Regions from separate parts of the Homo sapiens genome. Here all the other regions are linked to region 2. Evidence: promoter capture Hi-C in 16 types of primary human blood cells and fetal thymus (Javierre and others, 2016). All regions are on one chromosome and are shown on one strand. Each heading gives the region's core, a stretch centred on a gene start or on the middle of the fragment in contact. The rest is flanking DNA. Distances are from core to core; before and after follow the strand shown.

Evidence for each region. The method cuts DNA at HindIII sites, captures the fragments that hold promoters and counts their contacts. A CHiCAGO score of 5 or more calls a contact.
Region 1: a contact is called between a fragment that was not itself captured here and the fragment with the promoter of SNTG2 in region 2, in 1 of 17 cell types (naive B cells). The highest score is 5.2, in naive B cells.
Region 3: a fragment that was not itself captured here is called in contact with the fragment with the promoter of SNTG2 in region 2 in 1 of 17 cell types (naive CD8 T cells); the score reaches 7.3 in naive CD8 T cells.

What each region holds. Positions count from the first base shown.
Region 1 is chr2:1,562,599-1,565,768 of GRCh38, forward strand. All of the region lies in intron 4 of LALTOP (lung cancer associated lncRNA targeting TOP2A), which reads right to left. Among named protein-coding and RNA genes, the nearest start is that of LALTOP, 61 kb to the right of the region's middle. The HindIII fragment of the contact is 367 bases long and covers 1,297-1,663 here.
Region 2 is chr2:949,441-952,458 of GRCh38, forward strand. SNTG2 (syntrophin gamma 2) reads left to right here and starts at 1,409. Exons shown (of 17, transcript NM_018968.4): 1 at 1,409-1,628. The coding sequence starts at 1,557. It overlaps SNTG2-AS1 (SNTG2 antisense RNA 1), which reads right to left and starts at 1,952. Exons shown (of 3, transcript NR_136151.1): 1 at 1,845-1,952; 2 at 471-946; 3 at 194-361. RefSeq lists a silencer at 1,318-1,447. The HindIII fragment of the contact is 9,455 bases long and covers 1-3,018 here.
Region 3 is chr2:1,518,431-1,521,733 of GRCh38, forward strand. All of the region lies in intron 15 of TPO (thyroid peroxidase), which reads left to right. All of the region lies in intron 6 of LALTOP (lung cancer associated lncRNA targeting TOP2A), which reads right to left. Among named protein-coding and RNA genes, the nearest start is that of LALTOP, 110 kb to the right of the region's middle. The HindIII fragment of the contact is 3,232 bases long and covers 1-3,136 here.

The sequences.
Region 1 (3,170 bases), core at 230-2,729, 610 kb after region 2:
CAGGTCCCCAGCCCTCCCTCCCACCCAACCTGTGCCTCCATGTCCTCAGCCCAGCACCCTCCAGCCACAGGGGCAGGCACCATTTTAAAGTTGGCCATTTCTCACATTAGACAGTGACCTCCTCCATCATCTTGCTGAGGCACAAATCTAAGTCATGTGCATTTCATTAGCTAATCGTTAGGGGGGAAAGTTAGTATTTGTGTTGATGGCTAGTACTGACCGCAAAAATTAAAAGAAGGTGAAGTGGGCTAAGACAACAGTGATTTATAGCCAGGAAAACAAATGTTTTGCATAAATATGAGAGTGGAATGCTAAGTTTGGTGACAGCTCGTATCAGTGACAGAAACAAGAAAAAGCAATTTATGAAAAGTTTTTATTGTGTGCTCCAGCCAGAATTTATTTTTATTGCTTCGTAAGTGACTTTAGCTTTGTTTTATAAAACCATTAAGGGTCTGAATGGGTCATCAAATTTTCCGGTTCTGTGTTATTAAATTTTAGGAGGAAAATGATGTGCGATGATGGAATTTGAATGGGCAGCCGTTGGTGGATGTTTGAGAACGCTTCCCTCGAGAAGCCTCACCGCGGAGCATCCTTCAATCAACCTCAGCCCGTGCTCACTTACCACCCTGACACCCCCATTTCCGAGTCCACATGGCACCTCCTGGATGCCACGAATGTTCCCGGGCAGTGCTGTGCCAGCACCTATGAGAGCCTGGCCCGTGTTTGCTGGTGATGTCCTGAAAGAGGCCCAGGTCCTCCAGGAACACGCAGGGCTGCATAAAGCACACCTCCTCACATTGTCTTAGAGACGATGGGCTTTCTAAGTGTAAAGCACTCTGCAAACACACACGTCACCTCCTCACCTTCTCCGGCTGAGCACCTGCACCCCCTGGTCTCACCAAGTCCCGCCCCTCACTTCTACCCAAGCTCCACTCCAGGGAGAGGCACCTTCGGCCCACAGAGAGTGTTTCGTAAATTATTCATCCAACAAACGTTTGGCTGTCTCTTCCATGCCAGGCGTTGGGTGTGGCCCAGGGTGCCGGACTCTCTGTGAGCTCACGCACAGGCTGCGGCAGAGACAGTCAGTCCAGACGTCGCAGGTGATGCATGAAGTCAGAGGGCCTGGGAGCAATGCCATGTGCAGCCGATGTTTGCGGGGGAACTCTGTATAGTGTGGTGGACCCGAATCGCCAGCAACAGAGGACACGTGCACCTGGCAGCAGCCTCTGGAGACAGGACGCCCTCGTGTGCTGGGCCAGGGCCCAGGGACCTGGGAGCCAGGGCTGCAGCTTGCGAAGCTTGGGCAGGACTCAGTGTTTCCTCCCAAATGATTCAGAAACCTCTGGAAAGTTATGAGAATGAAGGAAATTGGGCTGATGTCTCCAAAGGACTCTTCAGGCTTTGGGGTGGGGGGAGCAAAAGCCGGGAGAATGGGGCAGGGTGGGCCTGTCCATGTCTGCACGCGGGCCCAAGAGGTAGCCATGGCAGTGATGAGGCAGGGGCACAAGGGAAGGGAAGGCTCAGAGCAGGTTTGCTGGAGCCCATCCTCAGAAGGGAGTCTCTGCTGAGGTCGAAGAGGCCTTTGATGGGGCTTCAGAGTCTGTGACATTCCAACTTCGAACCACTGCTGGGTTCACGTGGAGGTGCAATAATGATAATAACAAGCTTGGGGGTTCTAGTGTGATCTTGCTCCCCGTGGGCGGATTCCGTACACTGGTGACTTGTAAGGACTTCACATTCTTAGTATGACAGAAGCCTTCAATCTCAAATACAAACTCATTCAGGCCCACAGGCGCTGCTGTAAAACGTCCTGTGCAGAAGGTAGAGGCGTCCAAAACTGCCTTGTGAACTGGTTTTTGCTGGCAGCATTTAAATCCACTTCCCTCAACCCCCAAAATGGAAAAACAATTTTCATTTGGAAGAGCTCTGGACGCCGTGGTCGGTGAGAACAACCTTCTTGGAGCCTGCGGTTTCCTGCGGGGAGGGGTTTCCTGTGCCCTGGGCCACGCGTGGACTTCTCTCCCTGAGGCAGGATGTGGGTTGGGGCGTTGGGTCCCCAGGCTTGAGATCTCTGGGTCCATTGAATCTCAGCAAAACACTGGCTCCCAGAAGAAAGGGGAAGCTGGGTGGCTCCCATGGGCCACAGGTCCCCTGAATGCCCTGCTTATCCCTCCCACCCACAGCATTCCTGAGCCCACGGTCAGGCCACATCCTGGGGGACAACCCTGTGTGCTGAAGCAGCTGCGGCCATGCCCAGGCCACAGGAGAGTCCCCGACACAATCCTGGGAGGCCGTGGTCCCTCGTTGTACCAAGTCACCCTCTACACTAAACCACCTGCTACACCAGTAAACCAGCCACTACACCGGTAAACCAGCCGCTACACCAGTAAACCAGGGGAGTCCCTGACACAATCCTGGGAGGCCGTGGTCCCTCATTGTACCAAGTCACCCTCTACACTAAACCACCTGCTACACCAGTAAACCAGCCACTACACCGGTAAACCAGCCGCTACACCAGTAAACCAGGGGAGTCCCTGACACAATCCTGGGAGGCCGTGGTCCCTCGTTGTACCAAGTCACCCTCTATACTAAACCACCTGCTACACCAGTAAACCAGTCGCTATACCAGTAAACCAGCCGCTACACCAGTAAACCAGCTGCTACACCAGTAAACCAACTGCTATACTGGTAAACCAACCACTCATTACATCAGTAAACCAGCCGCTACACCAGTAAGCCAGCCGCTACACCAGCATGCCAGCCGCTACACCAGCATACCAGCCACTACACCAGCAAACCAGCTGCTACACCAGTATACCAGCGGCCACACCAGTAAACCAGCCGCTACACCAATAAGCCAGCCGCTACAACAGTAAGCCACCCGCTACACCAGTAAACCAGCCGCTACACCAATAAGCCAGCCGCTACAACAGTAAGCCACCCGCTACACCAGTAAACCAGCCGCTACACCAGTAAACCAGCCGCTATACCAGTAAGCCAGCCGCTACACCAGTATGCCAGCCGCTACACCAGTATGCCAGCCGCTATACCAGTAAACCAGCCGCTACACCAGTATGCCAGCCGCTACACCAGTAAGCCAACCGCTACACCAGTATGCCAACCACTACACCAGTAAACCAGCCGCTACACCAGTAAGCCAGCCGCTACAC
Region 2 (3,018 bases), core at 159-2,658:
CACGTATAAAAAGACCTGGTTTTTGCTATTCAAGAGCTTGTCCTCTGGTTAAACTGAGTGCTAAGAAGTGCTGGCAGACTGCCGTGAAGGTGAAACAGGAATACAGAGAATAGAGAAATGGGGAAGGGCGTCTGTGTTCGAAACCCAGGTCTGCTCAGGGGTCAAGCAAGTCGGAGTCAGAAAAAGTAAAGTGTTTAACATCGAGTTTTCAATATTTATTTGTTTACAATGCGTCACATTCTGCTCCTAGATAGGGTTAACCTCTGAAGACCTCAGATTTCGCTGCTTTTCCTTGCCGTGGAGAGGGAATAAAACGGGCATCGTGGCCTCCGCGATGGGCGCTCGTGCCTGGGTCGAAGGACTGGGGGGCGGAGGATTTGGAAAGGGAGAAAAATACGGGCTGGCTTCTTTTTAAAAAATGTGGGTAGCCTTGCCTGCCCCCGCCGCACTGGAATTTATCCTAAACTTACTTTCATTTACATTAAAACAAGACGATTTGAGTCTACCAAACCCAATACTGCATCTGTGAGGCTCCTTTTGGCACAAACCTGAATGAACAGCGGGAAACGCCGTCTCCCCTGGCGTCTGAGATCTGGGGTCCCCTCCCCACCTGGTCTCCTCGCTCCCGCCCCAGCCCCGTGCGCCCCAGGAGGGCACCGCCGAGCGCCGGGTCCCCGCAGGGTTCGGGAGACTCCGCGGACCGGAGGAGGGATAGGACCCCCGAGCTTTGGGGGCGGGAAGGGAGGGTGGAAGGAGGAGGGGAGCGGGGTTGGGGAAAGTTGGAGCTTCGGTATCTTTTCTCCGGGCCAGGCCGTCCTCGGGGCCCTGCGCTGCGTCTCCAAGTGCTGGGAAGACTCCGCGGGGAAAGGTCTGAGGACGCGGCCGGCTGGCACAGGTGTGGCGGCTTCAGAGGGCCGGGGAGAACCCATGGCTTCGAGGCTGTGGACTAGAAATGTCCCTGATTAGAAGCTGAGAACCTTTGGCCAGGGAGGTGGGGCGGCGGGGAGGGGTCGTCAAGCCGGTCCAGAGCGCGCCCACCTGCGCCACAAGGGAGAAGAGGTGCCCCCCGCCCCCCTCCGCCCACCGCCGCCACGATGCGCCGCGGACCTCGGCGACCCAGCCCGGGTAGAAGCGCGCGCTCCCCTCCTCCAGCCTCGTGCGCCGGCCCCTGCCCCGCCAGCCCCGCTATGGTCCCCCATCCACCCCCGCGGGAGCGCCCCTGTCCCCCCATCCTGCACTTCCCCCAGAGTCGCGCGCCAGTTTCCCGCCCCGTGGAAGCGCCCCTCTCCCGACTTCGGCTGATCCCCGCTCGCCGCCCTCCCCGCGGGTGCGCGCCCGGCCCCTCCCTCGCCCGGGGCGGGTCTGCGTGGGCGGTGCTCCGGGTCGGCGGGCGGAGCTCCGGTTCCCCAGCCCTGCGCCCCGGTGGAGCCCGAGCCGGAGCCGGCAGAGGGGCGCGGGCGCGGACGCGGCGCCTGGCGGGGCCCTGGGAGGCTCGGACGGGGTCCTGGCGTTGAGCTCGGCCGGCCCGGAGCGCGGACCCAGCCGCAGGGGCGGCGATGGGCACCGAGGGACCCCCGCCCCCGGCCGCCTCCCGCGGACGCCAGGGCTGCCTGCTGGTACCTGCGCGGGTGAGTGCGGCCCCTCAGCGCCCCTTCACCTCCGGCCCCCCTTCCCTCTCCTTCGCGCCCTTCTCCCCCCGCCCCTCCTCCCTCCACGCCCCCTCGCTCCCCGCGACCCCTTCCCTGTCTCCGGGGACGGCTGGCCGGAGGGTGGGCGCCGGAGCCCCGGGACGCAGTGGGCACCCGCCCCCTGGCCGCTCTGCTCCCTCCAGCCCAGTGTCTTACTGGAAACTTGCAGGCTTTGCTCCTCCAGCGTCTTCCAAGGTTTGGTTTTGAGGCGCCCGGGCTTCCCTTTACTGCGTGGGAAGTAGTGCTTTCCAGAATTTGGGATTTGAGATTGGCCCGGCATTGCTTCCCAGGAGCGGCTCTTTCGGGCCCAGGCGGTGGCTCGGACCGGAGCGTCCCCCCTGCAGCCTTCGGGCGCCCAGGCCAGGTCTGAGTTGGCCAGTTTGAGCCCAGCCAGGTGCATGGCGCGGCCTCGGCAGGTGCTGGGGGCTCTAGGCCATTCGGGGAACCGCTGGGACGCCAACTGGGTAATACGGATTTCTTTTTTGAAGTCTATTCTGGTTCCCACCCTAAATAACTCCCTCTTCACCTTCTTATTTTTAAATAACTAAACTATTGATTGACAGAAAACAGAAATGTTGGCCCAAAGAAAAACGAAAAGTTCTTGGAAACCTTCAAGTTGCCACCCACAGCACAGCCTCGAGTTGTGAAAACAGTTTAAGGGAGCACGTGGCCACCCCAGCCCTAGGAGGCTGCCGAGAAGCGCGGCTGTTAATGAAAATGCATTGACAACCACTCCTTTAGGATTCCTTCCCCAGGAGCTCCCAGTCCCAGGAGCGACCAGGAATACAGTTAGCCCTCCCTTATAGGACAGTGGAGAGACGGTTCAGAAGGCCACGGGTTGAGGGCTGCTACAAATTCCTATCGTCATAATAATGATTCTAAACTAGGACTGTGGTCGTCGCTACTGTGATGTTAAAAAGATTTCTATGTAGAGACAGGTGCATCTTCATTCAAGTAGCACCTTTCTGGGCTTTTACTACAAAATATGAAAATTAAATTTCATGTAAAATGTGGGTGTTCGTTTCTTGAAGTACTTTGTAATATGAATAGCTATCCCACTGTTGCCCATGGTAATCAAACCCGAGAAAATATGCGGGGATTACCTGGAAATAAACCGCAGTAAAAACTGCAGGCGCTGTGGAATCACAGGCTTTCCGTCTGGTCACTGCCTTCAGCTTTATAATGATGCCCTCCCACGGTTAGGGATTGTGCATTTTTCTCCAGACATTCGAGCAAAGCAATTCTTGCTTTTAATCATTGTAATTATAGCGGAAGCGTTGAAGTGGATTCATCATACTTCATGATTGACCCACTTGATGAGTTATTGGCA
Region 3 (3,303 bases), core at 271-2,770, 570 kb after region 2:
TTGTGATCACTTGTAAGGGAAGACTCTGTACCTGCCATCTGCTCTGCATCCTGTCTCTCTGGGGCTGAGATATGGTAGTAAAGCCAGTTCCCCATTTCAGTTATTCTGCAAGGCCTCTGACAACTGCTGTGGTTGACCCAGATGCCTGCATTTGATGCATGAGCTTATGATCTATCCGGCATATGATATTTCAGTGACGTATTTCTGAGTAGCTTCATAGCTTCTAACAAAACTAACATACACCATAATTCAGACAACTGTGAGAAATTCCTTCCAGTAGAGAGGTGATAGTAATGGCTAAAGCCATGTGTCAGATGTAATGCTAAGTCATCCTTAGCCACTGTCTCCTCTGATTTTCTGATCAATCATCTGACTCAGGTGCTTGCCATGGCTTGAACTGTGCATTGCCCAGAACATATGTTTATATCCTGACCTTTAGGACCTCAGAACGTAACCTTATTTGGAACTAAGGTCTCTGCAGGTGTAATTAGTTAAAATGAGACTGTCCTGGAGTAGAGGGGCCCCTAATTCAGTATAGCTGGTGTTCCTCTAGAAAGAAGAGTTTGGACAGAGTCATGCTGAGCAGGCGAAGGCCATCTTGACGGGAAGGCAGAGATCAGGGTGGGGTTTCTCTAAGCTGGGGCCTGGGAAGATCGCCAGCAGCCACAGGAACTGGGAGGGAGGCCGGGGGAGCCGCCTGCAGGCACCTTGATGTGGACTCCTGCCTCCAGAGCTCTAGGTCATAAACTGCTGTTTAAGCAGCCAAGTCTGTGGTCCTCTGTGACTGCAGCCCCAGAAAACTTAATGAAGTGCTATGATTGTGTCCATTTTCAGTGTAGCATGTGGAGGTGGAGCGAGAGCCTGTTACTTGCTCAAAGCTGGTAGGCCCAGAGCAGATCCTTGAACCCAAGACCTGTCTGGTGCTGGAGGTCGTGCCACAGCTGCCCTGCTTCTCCTCGCGAGAAGATTATATTCCACATGCCAGGGCTGTTGTTTCAAATAATCATTACCAGTGAAGATTGAATAATCACCTACTCTCTCTACAAGACACTATACTGATCTGTTTTGGAAAGAGAGTACTTTAACCTTTAAATGGTGTCTCTAGTTTTAGATGGGGTGGTGGCAGGAAATATTCCCTATGTTTTATGAATCATTTGGTCTTTAAACCTTAAAAACTTTAATAACTAATAATTAAAACCCTCAGCTAACCATGAAATAGACTAAGCAATAAAAATTGAATAGGCTGTAAGCAAATAACTTCAAATTAGCTGGTTCTGTAATTAGAACTATGAAATGTATAATTGTAACAAAAACTGATACGACTATAATTTCCTATTCATAAACAATTTTGTATTTGCAAACATCCCTATAAACATCTATCACATTATCATTATAATAAATATTAGTGTCTGTAGCCCACACTCACAAGAAAAATAGCAATTTTCTTTAAGATTGACAGCCATAGATGAAATGAATACCTTTCCAAGGGAACTTGGGAGAGAAATATTTGGCTATAGTTGATTTTAGACTCTGGAGTTCTAAAAATACGCTACCAAGCACCAATTTAGTTTGCAAAATGCCACTTAGCTGAAAGATATGAAAAAGTGGATGTTAATGTGCCATCACACGCTTGAGAACACAGGCAGTTACAGAGTCAGAGACCATAACAGGGAAGACCCTGGGGCTCCAGGGCAGAAACATCCTGGACCAAAACCACAGCACCCCCAGACCTGTGATTAGGTGAGCTCAGAAGGTCAAGTCACTCATTAGGAAATGTCTTCCCACCACCTACCCTGAGACCCCTATTCTGCTCCCAGCAAATGGGCTCAACACAATCCCAGCCTCGCCTCCCTGTGTCTTATTCTTCAGCTTTTAAAAACATGATCTTATTTCCACCTTAGGGCATTATTGTGCGGTGAGGAGTAGGGAGGAGAACAGAGAGGGATAGGAAGAAAGAGAGACAGAGACAGCAGAGAGAGACACGGGAGGGGAGAGAACCCAGCACGGTGTGGCACACAGCAGGTGCTCAGCAAACACGTTTCCTCTCCTAGTGAGACAAAGGTGTTTGCTTCTCTACTCTCCTCGTTTTCTACCCACCCTGCTGTCTGGGGTCTCACACTGTATGTTTTGGTGTGATTGTTATTAATGTGACAAATTGTTGATATATTTTCACTGCAAATCTACGATTCGGAGTTAACTCCATGAAACCAACTCCTCCATCAACTTTCTTGACACTGCATTTAAAATACCTCCACGGTATTATGCTTGTTTTATTGCATTGAAATTGTTTTCACCAAGTTGAATTCTTTCTGTGCAAACTTTTACACTAAAAATTCATTCCTCAAATCAGTTCTTTGGTCCATGTCAGTTTTGCCAATTAGACCTTTCGCCATGGAGGTGTTTTCCTTTGTGTTATGATTTCTTCAGATCCGGCTTTCTTAGCTCAGCATTTTAAACTTAAATTTCATGAAGACTTTGTCTGTCTGTTGATTCTTACTGTCCAGGGAAGATGCTAAATGTGCAGTTCCAGTCCTTTCTCCATTCGCTCTTGTTTTTATTATTTTTACCAATTCTACTTTTCCACCATCACTTAGTTCTGCAATTTCTGAAATACAATTTTTCAGGTTTTCCTTGTCGTTGATAAACGGTGCCCTATACCTTTTTGCTGTTTTCAGTTGTATTTTGTATTGATATTCCTACCTATGGTATGCATTATAAATTCAAGAAAGTTTGAATCATTTGCATTAATTTCCAGCAAATCCATGGGAAAGCCGCGAGGTCCTTCCCTAGGATGCAGCCAGGTTTGTCCTCCGTCCAGGACGTCTAACCCTTTGTTCCCTCCTGCACCTTCCCACGCTGTGAGCTGACGGGTGCTGTTTCTCTAGGCACGTCACGGGGGGTTCCTGCCATCTCTCCTCTCTTTATCATTAGATTCATAAGCGTGCTGGAGGGAGGCCAGCTGGGACTAGGCCGAGGCAGCCATGGGGCAGTGGGCCACGGGATCCCTGTAAGCCATGGGTGACCGGGTGCCCTCTTCCCCCAGGACCCTCCTCCCCAGGGACCCTCCTCCCCCAGGGCCCTCTTTCCCCAGACTCTTGGGGTAGAGACGGCCTGAGTCTCTTGAGATGGAGTCTGAAGCTTCTGGTCATCTGAACTGCATGTTGATGACAGGAATTGTCTTCAGGACGTCATTAGGGAAGTCCGAGAGAACTGGCCCTTTGCTGGGGGACAGACGTAGAGTGGCCAGCCTGGGCTACACAGCATGGGGGATCCGAACCTGTTGTAGTGGAATCCTTCAGAGTC